Linked DNA regions of Homo sapiens: regions 2 and 3 are each linked to region 1. Evidence: promoter capture Hi-C in 16 types of primary human blood cells and fetal thymus (Javierre and others, 2016). All regions are on one chromosome and are shown on one strand. The core of a region is centred on a gene start or on the middle of the fragment in contact, and the rest is flanking DNA. Distances in the headings are between cores, read along the strand shown.

Region 1 (3,917 bases), core at 923-3,422:
ACCAACCACAGCAAGGTGAGCTGCGGTGCCCCCAGCTCCAGCCTCCAGCATGGAATAAGTGGCTCCTCCTCCTGGCACGGAGCAACTGGGCAGGCAAAGTCAGATAAGCCTAGAACAGGATGCAGAGAGTGGTAGCATTAGAGTCTCACCTTGTCATGCTGGCCACTAGGTGGCAGGGGCCAGTTTTAGCAAAGGCACTCACACCTACCCTCCAAAGCCCAGCCTCCCTTTTTGGCCCAAGTTCACCAGGAACTGGGGCCTGGGGTGGGGACTGGAGACACCACAGTACAGCGTCCGGGCTTCCCACTCGGCACGAATCGCTGGGCCCACCCCTGGCTGCGCTCCTCAGGAAGCAGAAGCAGCAGAAACTCAACCCCAGCCAGCCCTCCCCACCCAAGTGCCGGTACCTCTTCCTGACACCTCCACCCACAGGGCCCTGTCACTCCATGATGTCCGCTACTGTGTGCCCAGGGGTCCCAGACGGTCTCAGCAACACATGGTGAGAGGGCGCGCGCCTGGGAACCACAGCAGGTCTAGGGGCCGGGCCGTGCTCAGGATCCCCGCAGAAATGCTGTGTGCTGGCCAGGAGCAGAAGGAGATGGCCCTCTAGAGACTGGAGTCCCTCTCACCTCCTCTGACCACCGCTGTCACTGACACCTCCGCTGCCCACCACCAGGGGGACGGTGCAGCCCCCGATAGCGCCCCCGACCCTCCCCCACAGCTGGCAGTGTAGCACCAGATGGCAACCCCAACCCGCCCCTGCCTCGGACACTGCAGCACCAATGGCACCCGCAACCCACCCCCTGCCTTGGGCAGCGCAGCCCGGGATAGCGCCCCCAACCCGCTCCCTGCCGTAGGCAGTGGCTGTAGACAGTGTAGCCATGGGTAGCGACCCCAACCAGACCCCTGCCGTGGGCAGTGATGCCCCGATATGGCACCCAAATCGCCCCCTACCCCGGGCAGTGCAACCCTGGATAGTGCCCCTACCTGCTCCCCACCAGGAGAAGCAGCCCAGGATAGCACCCTCAACCCACTTCCTGCCTCCAGGCAGTGCAGCCACAGATAGCACCCAAACTTACTCCCCACCTCGGGCAGTGCGGCCACAGACAGCTCACCTAAACCACCCCCTGCCAAGGGCAGTGTAGCCCCCTATAGTGCACCCAACCTGCCCCTGCTGCAGCCAGTGCAGCCCCAGATAGCACACCCACCCGCTCCCTGCTAGGCAGTACAGACCCCTGATAGCACCCAACCCACCCCTCCACCGCAGGCAGTGTACCCGGCCCTCAATAGCGCCCCCAACCAACGCCCCCACCCCCTCTCCATGGGCAGTCCAGCCCCGGTACCAATCCCAACAACCCCCCGCTACCTGTCTCAGTGTAGCCCCCAGAGAGCGCCCTCAACAACCCCCTCCCCACTGCCAGCAGTGTAGCACCCTATAGTGACCCTAACCCGTCCCCCACCACCAGCATTGCAGCCCCAAATAGTGCCCCCAACCCGCTCCCCACTGTGGGCAGTGCAGCCATGGATAGTGTCCCCAACCAGCTCCCAGATGCAGGCAATGATGCCCTGGATATCACGCCCGCCCCCGTCCCCCACAGGCAGAGTAGCACCGGATAGCAGCACCCACCCTCGCCACCAGCAGTGTTGCACCCACCAGCCCCCCACAACCTGTCCCCAACAAGGGCATCAGGGCATTGCAGCACCTGATAGTTCTACTAACTCACCCCCGCCCCCCGGCCGCGGGCAGTGCATCCCCAGATAGTGCCCCCAAAACTCCCCACTGCCGCAGGAATTACAGCTTCGGATAGCGCCCCAACCCATCTCCAGCCATAGGCTGGATAGCGCCCCCGGATAGCGCCCCCACCCCACTCCCCTCAGCGGGCAGTGACGCCCGAGGTACCACACTCAAGCAGCCCCCCAACACGGGCAGTGACGCCCTGGATAGGGCCCCCAACCCGCCCCCCACGCCACAGGCAGTACGGCCTGGGATAACGAACCTATTCTGCCACCTTTTCACCATTCTGGCTGCGCTGTAGTCACCCTCGCGGCCACCAACCGCAGCAGCGAGGTGAGCCACTGTAGGCTCCAGCCTCCAGCATGCGCGGTAGATGACTCTAGCCTCTGGCATGCGCGGCAAGTGGCTCCTCCTCCTTCTCCTCTAAGCCGGGCACAGAGCAGCTACGCAGGCCGACGCAGATGAGCCTGGAAGGGCAAGCCACCCCTCTTGGCATCCTTTATATACTGAGTTTAATGCAAATGAAGTTTCTCGACTACATAGTCTGATCGGATGAGAGAAACCTCTAGGCCTACTCTGATCGGGCTTTGTTATCTTGTTCTGATTGGTTATCCTAAGACTTGCTGTCATCCAGTCAGAACGTGAAAATAAAGCACAATCAGAGTAGACCTAGAGGTTTTTCTCTCATCCAATCTGAACATGTAGTCCAGAAACCTTACTTGCATAACCTCGGTCTGTGGGGGGAGGGGTTCTTGCCATTCCAGGCACTTCTGCGTCTGCCAGCCCATCTGCTCCATGCCCAGGTTAGAGGAGGAGTCACCTGTCCCACGCTGGAGGCTTGAAAGCCTGCAGCAGCATGGCTCGGCTCGCTGCCGTTGGTGGCGGTGAGGGAGACTAGACCGCAGCCAGAATGTAGAAAGGTGGCGGGGTGGATGAGCTATCCAGGGCTCACTGCCTGCGGCAGGGGGCGGGGAGGGGGACAGGTTGGATGCACGATCTGGAGCTGCACTGCCCGAGGTGGGAGCGGGGGCGGATTGAGGGCGCCATCGTGGGCTACAACCCGGTGGTGGGAGGCGTGTTAGGGGCAGTATTGGGTGCTGCACTGCCTACAGCACGGGAAGGTTGGGTGCTTTACCGGACGTCATTTCCCGCAGCCGCGGGGTGGCTTGCTGGGGGCGCTATCCGTGGCTGCACTGGTCGCGCTGGGGTACGGGTTGGGGGCGCTATCTGGGACATCAGTGCGCATGGCAGGGAACTTGTTGGCTGTGATATCCGAGGCGTCACTGCCCTTGGCTGGGGGCTGGTTGGGGGCTCTATCTATGGGCTACACTGCCTACAGCCAGGAGCGTGTTGGGGCGTTATCGGGGCGGACTGCCAGTGGCGGGGGTGGGGGTGCGGGTTGGGTGCTATCGGGGGGCTTCACTGCCTGGCAGGGAGTGGATTGGGTGCGCTATTTGGGGTTGGACTGCCGGCGGTGGTTGACTCGGTGGGAGGAGAGGGGCAGAGGGAATGGGTTGGATGCACTATCGGGAGCTACACTGCCCGAGGCGAGGGGGAGATGGGGGCGCCATCGTTGGCTACACCGCATGTAGTGGGGGGCGTGTAAGGAGCAGTAGTGCGTGTTGCATTGCTCATGGCGGGGGAGGGTTGGGTGCGTTATCCCGGGCGTCATTTCCCACAGCGGCGGGGGTCAGTGGAGGGGCTTGTTGAGGGCGCTATCCATGGCTGCACTGGTCGCTGAGGGGCAAGGATTGGGGGCGCTACCTGGGACATCAGTGCCATGGTGGGGAACTTGTTGGGTGTGTTATCCGAGGCATCACTCCCCATGGCTGGGGGCTGGTTGGGGGCGCTACCCATGGGCTGCACTGCCCACAGCCAGGAGCGTGTATGGGACATTATCGGGGGCGGACTGCCAGTGGCTGGGTGGGGAGGCGGGTTGGATGCTATGTGGGGTTGCACTGCCCAGCAGGGAGTGAGTTCGGTGCGCTATCTGGGGTTGCACTGCCGGCGGTGGGTGGCAGATTGGGTGCCCTATCGCTACACTGCCGCGGCGAGTACCGGGTTGGCGGCGCTATCCTGGGCTACACCGCCGGTGGCGGGAGGCGTTTTAGGGGCGCTATCTGGTGCTGCACTGCCCGCGCAGGAGTTGGGTTGGGTGACCTACTCCAGGCGTCACTGCCCG
Region 2 (3,917 bases), core at 537-3,036, 99 kb after region 1:
AGAGGCATGGGTTTTCATTTAGAATACTTTTATGTGATGAATCTGAGCTTTAGAACAATGGAATCACTTTCCCAGAGTATTAGGAAGAGAATTGATGATGATTAAATCCCAGTTCTTCCTGATTCCAAATCTCACAGTCTATCTCTGCACTATCTTGCCTCCTTACTCTGAGTTAAAATCGGATGAATTCTTTTCACCCACCAGTGTTAAGTCTGCCTTCTGGCATAAAAATAATCTCTTCTTCCACAATAAGATCTTTTGACACTCAAAATACTCCTAATCCATGTCCCTTTAAAATCTATGATATTCTTACACAGTGTGGAGACATTTTTGGAGGTAGGAGAAGTAGAGGGCATGTTCCTGCCTGCCTGCCCCAGGGAGGCAGGAAGGGGCTGTTTTCAGCACCATGGCCAGCTGCTGTGGCTCCAGGCTCTCTCCAGTATTTGCAGTCACAAGTTTTAGAATTGAAAGGTACTCGAAGATCAAGAGCAGATTGTAACAAAGCTGAGACCTTAGGCACAGCCTCTCCCTCCCTAAGCCTCAATTTACATGTCTATAAAATGAGATGATAAGACCAAATGATCTCTAGGGCTCTTTCCCCAGGTAGGATTCTATGATGTTCCTGATGGCCAGATTGAGAATCTGTTCTGAGCTACACCTGTGCTCTCCTTCAGATGGAGTGATATGAGGCCTCCAGCCCAGCACCAGGTAAAGCACATATGACCTTGAGCCCCCATAGCTCTGCACACCACACACCTCCACAACCATCCTCCACGTGTGCACGTTTCCCACATAGAGAGGAAAAGTTGCAATACTGAAGTAGAAGAAAGTATTAACTTACAGGATAAGTCTCTGGGCACTGACTAAGCGTTATTTCATTGGTCTTCGAGAGAAATTTGATTTTCTGCATTTGATATTGTAAGCCAGTATGACATAAGATCCCAAGGGCTTCTATCCCCTCATCTTGATGTCACTAGAACTGGCCATAGCTTTGGTTCCATCTGCCCTCAGTTCACAGGCTATGTCAGAAGAGCTCCAACTCTTCTCTTATCCCTGGCCATTCCTCAAATCAAGGCAGGGTGGCAAATTCCTCACCCACACTTACTCACTGAGTGCTGTCAAATATGAGGGGTAAGAATCCAATCAAAAATGGTCTAAAGATTTTAATAGACGTTTCTCAAAATATGATATATAAATGGCTAATAGGCACATAAAAATGTGCTCAACATCATCAATCATAGAAATGCAAATCAAAACTACAATGATATATCATCTCATCACAGTTAAAACGGCTTATATCCAAAAGACAGGCAATAACAAATGCTGGTGAGGATGTACACTGTTGGTGGGAATGAAAGTTAGTATGACCAGTATGGAGAACAGTTTGGAGGTTCCTCAAAAAACTAAAAAGACAGCTACCATATAATTCAGTAATCCCACTGCTGGGTATATGCCCAAAAGAAAGGAAATTAGTATATTGAAGAGATATCTGCACTCCTATGTTTGTTGCTGCACTGTTTACAATGGCTAAGATTTGGAAGCAACCTAAGTGTCCATCAACAGATGAATGGATAAAGAAAATGGGTACATATACACAATGGAGTACTATTCAGCCATAAAGAAAGAATGAGACCCTGTCATTTGCAACAACATGGATGGAACTGGAGATCATTATGTTAAGTGAAATAGGCCAGTCACAGTAAGACAAACATCTCATGTTCTCACTTATTTGTGAGATCTAAAAATCAAAACAATTGAACTCATGGACATAGAAAGTAGAAAGATGGTTACCAGAGGCTGGGAAGGGTAGTGGGGGTCTGGGGATGGGGTAGGGATGGTTAATGGGTACAACAAAAAAATAGAAAGAATGACTAACCTACTATTTGATAGCACAACAGGGTGGCTATAGTCAATGAAAACTTAATTGTACATTTTAAAATTAAGAGTGCAAGGCCGGGTGTGGTGGCTTATGCCTGTAATCCCAATACTTTGGGAGGCCAAGGCGGGCAGATCACCTAAGGTCAGGAGTTTGAGACCAGGCTAACCAACATGGAGAAACCCCATCTCTACTAAAAACATACAAAATTAGCCGGGCGTGGTGGTGCATGCCTGTATTCCCAGCTACTCAGGAGGCTGAGGCAGGAGAATCGCTTGAACCCAGGAGGTGGAGGTTGCAGTGAGCCGAGATTGCGCCATTGCACTCCAGCCTAGGCAACAAGAGTGAAACTCGGTCTCAAAAAAAAAAAAAAAAAAAAATTAAGAGTGCAACTGGATTGTTTGCAACTCAAAGGATAAATGCTTGAGGGGGTGGACACCCCATTCTCCATGATGTGCTTGCTTGCAGGCATGATTGCATGCCTGCATCAGAACATCTCACGTACCTCATAAATGTATACACCTACTACGTACTCACAAAAATTTTTTAAATATGAGGGGTGAGGGAGCTTGAATGATTCTGTACCCTTTCTTTCCCTTGAACTCAGAGTTAACTTCCCCAAACCCACTTATCCATCTCATCCCCACCCTACTCCTCACTGCCCTGGAGGGGAGACATCTGAGCTCTGATAAAATTATTTAGGGAAGAACTTCAGTAAAGTCTTGTTGTTGTAGGAGTAACTTTTATGGTTTAGGATCTGCTCTGGGTCATAAGTCACCTATTTCAATGGTCTCCTTAGGGCCTTCTTGGATGTTCTCCTCTTCCGCATCCAGGTCAATACGCTCCTCTTTGCTGTTGCGCAGGCTCCAACACAGACGGTAGAGCTGCAGAGAAGGCAGAACAGGTCAACAGAAAGATCCAAATAGCATCTTGGGACAAGAAGTTGGGGGGGCAAAGAGATATGCATCAAGGAAGGGAAGGGAATGTGGCATCTCAGTACCAGGAAGAACATACACAACGATTCTCATCCATAACATTATCTCTAAAAACATTGGTAACTTAGATAAAAGTAATATACATGTATATACTAGCCTCTATGATATATGCATATTCAGAGCTAAAAGATTGCCTCATATGGAAATGTTTGTTGAATGAACTCTTTTACGTGTGTGTGTGATAAATAATTTGTTCCTTTTAGCACTGGCAGTAGGAAGCAACAAGACAACCATTTGTCCAGGTTAGGAGTGTAAGTTCAGATTTTTGCACTATGTCACATTATGTGGATAAGAAGCTAGAATCATGAGCCATAATAGAATATGGTAGAGCTGAAGGCACAGTTTCTATTGACATAGTCAAGAGCATGAACCAAATACTTGATCTAGAGCATGAACTCGGTCTAGGGCATCAACTAGAAATGTGTTTGGGTTGTAATACTTTCAAAGACTTGAGACATGAGGAAGCAGTTGATACAACACAAAGAAAGCCTGTGACAGGTCCAGCAAATAGATGTGATTCAGTTCTGCTGCCATAAAAGCAGTCTTTGTTTGACGTTAGGTTTGTCACAGCTCTTAAAAATTTGGCAATGAAGTTGAAGGTCTCTTAGGGATTCCATAGTCTGTGCATGCATGAGTAAAGTAAAGGATTAACAAAATCCTTCTGTTTTCTAGGAATAAATATGACCTTGGGTTAACTTTCTGGCTCTGTTCCCTTGGAAACCTGGAAATCTGTGTTGGGTTACCAGACTACTAATAAAAATGGCTCATAATTGGTCATCTTTATCTAAATTGGGAGAGCCATGAATGAATTCTAAACCAATGGGGGCATCTAGAGTTAAAGAAGAGTAATTGCAACTTTTGAAGTCTTGAATCAATTAGACTTTGATATTGTTAGAAATGTTTTACATCCTATGGTCAATTTTTGGTGGACTAATTTGGAAAAAAAAATCAAGAGGCAAACTATATTTTGGGTTTCCCTGAGTAGACTGATTTTTGTAACTAGGTATGTGCTTTGTTGGGACCTTTGAAAGCTTTGACCATGGGAC
Region 3 (3,917 bases), core at 925-3,424, 65 kb before region 1:
GAATCATAGGACAGGTAGGCAGGAAGGACGCTGATCCTCAGTTTGCCCTGTCTGTTGAAGTACAGGAAGCCGCGGGGACAGTTGACATTGTGGAACAGAGCGAAAGAGTTGACAGGGCCATTGATGCCCACGGGGTGCAGCCGCAGCACCCCTCAGTCTGTCGCCAGGAGCCAGTGAGGTGAGGGGCCGCAGATGAACACTCCTGAGTAGCCATAAATGTCCTCGAAGTAGTGGAAACACGCCACGCGGCCCCGGGCCCGACCCTCTCCTCTGTGCGGCCACCTGCTTTCTTCTTGGATGGCTTCGGCTTCTTCTCACGGAAGCTGATGTTGTGAAGGACCTTCTTAAAGTGGACTTTGAGATTGCCCTGGCTGAGCCGAGAGTCGTGGGGGAAGGCCTTGTAGATAAGCAGCTTTTGGTCCACATGCACCAGCAGGTAAGGTGTGCTCTGGCGGCTGCCCAGCACAACCAGCAGCACCTCCTTGACGAGAGAGGCAGCTCCTCCTGGCACATGGCCTCCTCCCTGCGGGCCTCGCCCTGTGTGGTGGGCTCTCCAAAGGAGCTGTCCATGAGGACCCGCTGCCCCACAGGGAAGTTCTTCACCAAGAACACCAGCCGCCAGTCGGGGAGCTGGCAGGTCACCATGGTGCCATTCTCCTGCAACAGCAGGCACCAGTGGATGGGCTCTGTCTGGAAGGGTACAGAGTCCCAGTCGGCAGGGGCTGGCTGCTTCTTCGGGCCACCTCCTTGCTGGGACTGAAGAGGGATCCCAAATCCCCACACAGCATTTCCTCATCACCGACTGTGGGGCTAGTCTCCGAGCCCAGGCTCTCGGCCTCCAAGCCACTGTGGCCCCCTAGCTCATCGTGAGCCCCGCTCAGGCAGCTCTCAGTGGTGAACATGCCACTGAGGTCTCGGTACAGGCACAGCGTGATCACGTTGGGCTGATGGTGCAGCGGGGGCTTGTGCAGCACCAGGTGGTCGTGGCAGCCACTATAGGAGTGTGCTTTTCAGCAGGAACATGGTGACGCGGCCGTCGGCACTCATGATGACCACGCAGGGGTTGCCTACAGTGCACTGCATGTTGCGGGTGACCAGGCCCACAGGGATGAAGTACAACTGATTCATTCCTTCCAGCAGGTGGATGCCCAGCAGCGACACTTGGACAATGTAGTGGTTGTCCCCGATGTTTTCGGCAAAGACCGTGGGGCCCTGCGTGGCAAAGCCACTGGTGTCCAGCTCCATGATCTCCTGCCCCATCTGCGGGAATATGGTTGAGTCTTCCTGGCTCAGAATCAGGAATCACTGTCTGCGGTGGTCATTGTCCGCTTCGGGGGTGCTGGGTTCCTGCTCCGTGCCCTCCCCCTTGGGATTCTCTTTCTCCTCCTTAGGCACCAGGGCGATGACTGTCCACATGTCGTAGCAGCCGGGAAGCTCAAAGGTTGTCACCACCTGGGGCTGGATGCTCTTCTGCAGCACCGACAGAGCCCCATTCTTCCTGTGGCTGGAGCAAACCACAATCTCCAGGTCCGGCTCAGGGTTGTTCTGAAACTCTTCAGACAGGAAGGCAGGCTCACCCATGGCAGCATTGGTGCAGGGTCCAATGTTAAGGATGCTGTCACACACCTCAAAGGTAGGTGGCCAGCTGTGTGCCCGACTGGGCGTCGCTGCCGTACACTTCAATCTCGTCCATGTCGTCCTGTGACACGGATTTGTCCCTGGCTGACCAGCTGGCCATGTGTCCACTCGCTTCTTCTGTGAGGGAGGCTCTTCCTTGTCAGCAGCCTCACAGATAGCACTGGCCGGGGGCTCCTGAAGCTTCTCGGTGTACTTGAGGAGGAGAGAGTTGCCCAGGCAAGAACTCAGGAACAGGTACCCAGGCTCCATGGTGACCATGCTGGTGGTGAGGACGCTGGTGGCCGCCTTGTCAAAAGTGGAACACTCGGACGCTACGCATGCCATCGGTGATGAGGGTCAGCATGTAGATCTGACTGCCCTTGAGGGAGATGACCATCTTGTCATGGGAGATGAAGGTGGCCTGGGCGCAGTCCAGGGGGATTCACACACCCAGCTGGGTGCACAGCGGGAAAGCTGCGGTGCCTGTGGTGAGGCTGCTGAGAGCCACACCGTACGGGGGAATGCTCTGGTTCAGGTATAACAGCGAGCTGACGACAAAGACCACCACCCCACCTATGGGCTTGGGTACGGCCAGAGCCTGGGTGCAGTCAAAGGGTAGCTGGTGAGAGATCAGATGACGGGGTGCACCTTCTGCGTGATGTTAGCAAGATGGCCACGATGGAGCACGTGTCCTGCCACACAGCCACGTGCCCGGGCCAGGTCTGGTTGGGCTCGAACAGGATGGGCTTGTAGTAGCCGTGCAGGAACTGCAGGGCGATGATGATGAGCAGCTTCTCATCCAGGGCCTGCACATCGATGAGGTAGCTTCTACAGGACAGGCCAGCCCACTCCTATGGAATCAAAATACGGATTTTTAAAAGATCTCCAGGTGATTTAATATAAACAAGCTTGAGAAGTTATGTTTTAGGTCAGTGCTACACCCAAAGAAATATGACAGCCACATGTATAATTTTAAATTTTCCTGTAGACATGCTAAAAAAGTAATAAAAAACATGCAGCCGCTCGTGGTGGCTCACGCCTGTAATCCCAGCACTTTGGGAGGCCAGGGTGGGCAGATCACAAGGTGAGGAGTTCGAGACCGCCATGGCCAACATGGCAAAACCCTGTGTTTACTAAAAATATAAAAATTAGCCCGGTGTGGTGGCATGCTCCTGCAGTCCCAGCTACTCAGGAGGCTGAGGCAGAATCGCTTGAACCCAGAAGGCAGAGCGTGCAGTAAGCCGAGATCACACCACTGCACTCAGCCTGGGCGAAAGAGCGAAACTCTGTCTCAAGAGAAAAAATGCAAAAAATACTTTAAATAGTATATTATAAGCCTGTATATCCCAAATTATTATCATTTTCACAGAGGACACTAACCACATTTAAGGGCTCTGCAGCCAATGGCGACTACCACATTAGACAGCACAGGCCTAGAGCACGACCTAACTATTACATTACCTTCAAAATCTCTAGTCATCTCTAGTCTATATTCAACTATGGTTTGGGGGCATAAATATTTCAGGTGCCAGAATTCAGCCTATGCCCATATTTAATGGAGAACATTTTGAATGGCTACTTTCTCAGGGCCATTGATGGGCTGAGAGCAAATTTTACAGATTTCTTACCTTGGAACTTCAGCGTCTTTGGGTTCTGATATAGAATTGTCAGCTGGGGCTCCAGTTCCTTGATTTTAGAATCCATCTTTCCCAGCTGGAAATCGGGCCTGATGTCATTCTTCTGAGTAGCCACAGAGCGAAAGGAGCACATTACACCTTCCTCATGGGGTTCCTTCAGAAGTGAACTGATGCAGCGGATGCAGCAGACACATCCACGACTTAGGTACACGGGTTTTTCAAGATAAGATAGGGAGATGAGACATCGACTCGCTTCTTGAAATTGTTCAGCCGTGACCACTCTCTATGGAAAAATGTACATGCTATTAGAGTGTCATGAGTTGAAGGACAACACTCCTTGGAAATCTTTCCTCCTTATATACATAGAGATATCAGGGCCTACTATGCACAATTACTAGTGAAACATAATGAAACACAATATAAATACATATATAAAAGACTCAGGGCCTTGAGCTTCTGATATTTTAAATGCTAGCTGGAGTGCAGTGGCGCCATCTCGGCTCACTGCAAGCTCCACCTCCTGGGTTTACGCCATTCTCCTGCCTCAGCTTCCCAAGTACCTGGGACTACAGGCGCCCACCACCACGCCTGGCTAATTTTTTGTATTTTTAGTAGAGATGGAGTTTCACTGTGTTAGCCAGGATGGTCTCAATCTCCTGACCT

Evidence for each region. Contacts are between HindIII fragments. The CHiCAGO score rates a contact against its expected background, and 5 or more counts as called.
Region 2: a fragment that was not itself captured here is called in contact with the fragment with the promoter of RFPL2 in region 1 in 5 of 17 cell types (total CD4 T cells, naive CD4 T cells, M2 macrophages and 2 more); the score reaches 6.6 in total CD4 T cells.
Region 3: a contact is called between a fragment that was not itself captured here and the fragment with the promoter of RFPL2 in region 1, in 4 of 17 cell types (M1 macrophages, M0 macrophages, monocytes and 1 more). The highest score is 8.6, in M1 macrophages.

Annotation. Positions count from the first base shown.
Region 1 is chr22:32,203,328-32,207,244 of GRCh38, reverse strand. RFPL2 (ret finger protein like 2) reads left to right here and starts at 2,172. Exons shown (of 5, transcript NM_001394555.1): 1 at 2,172-2,538. SLC5A4-AS1 (SLC5A4 antisense RNA 1) reads right to left here and starts at 2,130. Exons shown (of 4, transcript NR_149072.1): 1 at 1,998-2,130; 2 at 1-109. RefSeq lists an enhancer at 1-728. The HindIII fragment of the contact is 11,730 bases long and covers 1-3,917 here.
Region 2 is chr22:32,103,629-32,107,545 of GRCh38, reverse strand. SLC5A1 (solute carrier family 5 member 1) reads right to left here. Exons shown (of 15, transcript NM_000343.4): 14 at 2,655-2,760. LOC105373000 (a long non-coding RNA gene) reads left to right here. Exons shown (of 3, transcript XR_938172.3): 3 at 604-689. Among named protein-coding and RNA genes, the nearest start is that of C22orf42, 54 kb to the left of the region's middle. The HindIII fragment of the contact is 4,236 bases long and covers 1-3,904 here.
Region 3 is chr22:32,267,908-32,271,824 of GRCh38, reverse strand. SLC5A4-AS1 (SLC5A4 antisense RNA 1) reads right to left here. Exons shown (of 4, transcript NR_149072.1): 3 at 3,246-3,537; 4 at 1-2,468. It also overlaps a transcript of SLC5A4 not described here and the pseudogene CPSF1P1. Among named protein-coding and RNA genes, the nearest start is that of SLC5A4, 15 kb to the right of the region's middle. The HindIII fragment of the contact is 707 bases long and covers 1,821-2,527 here.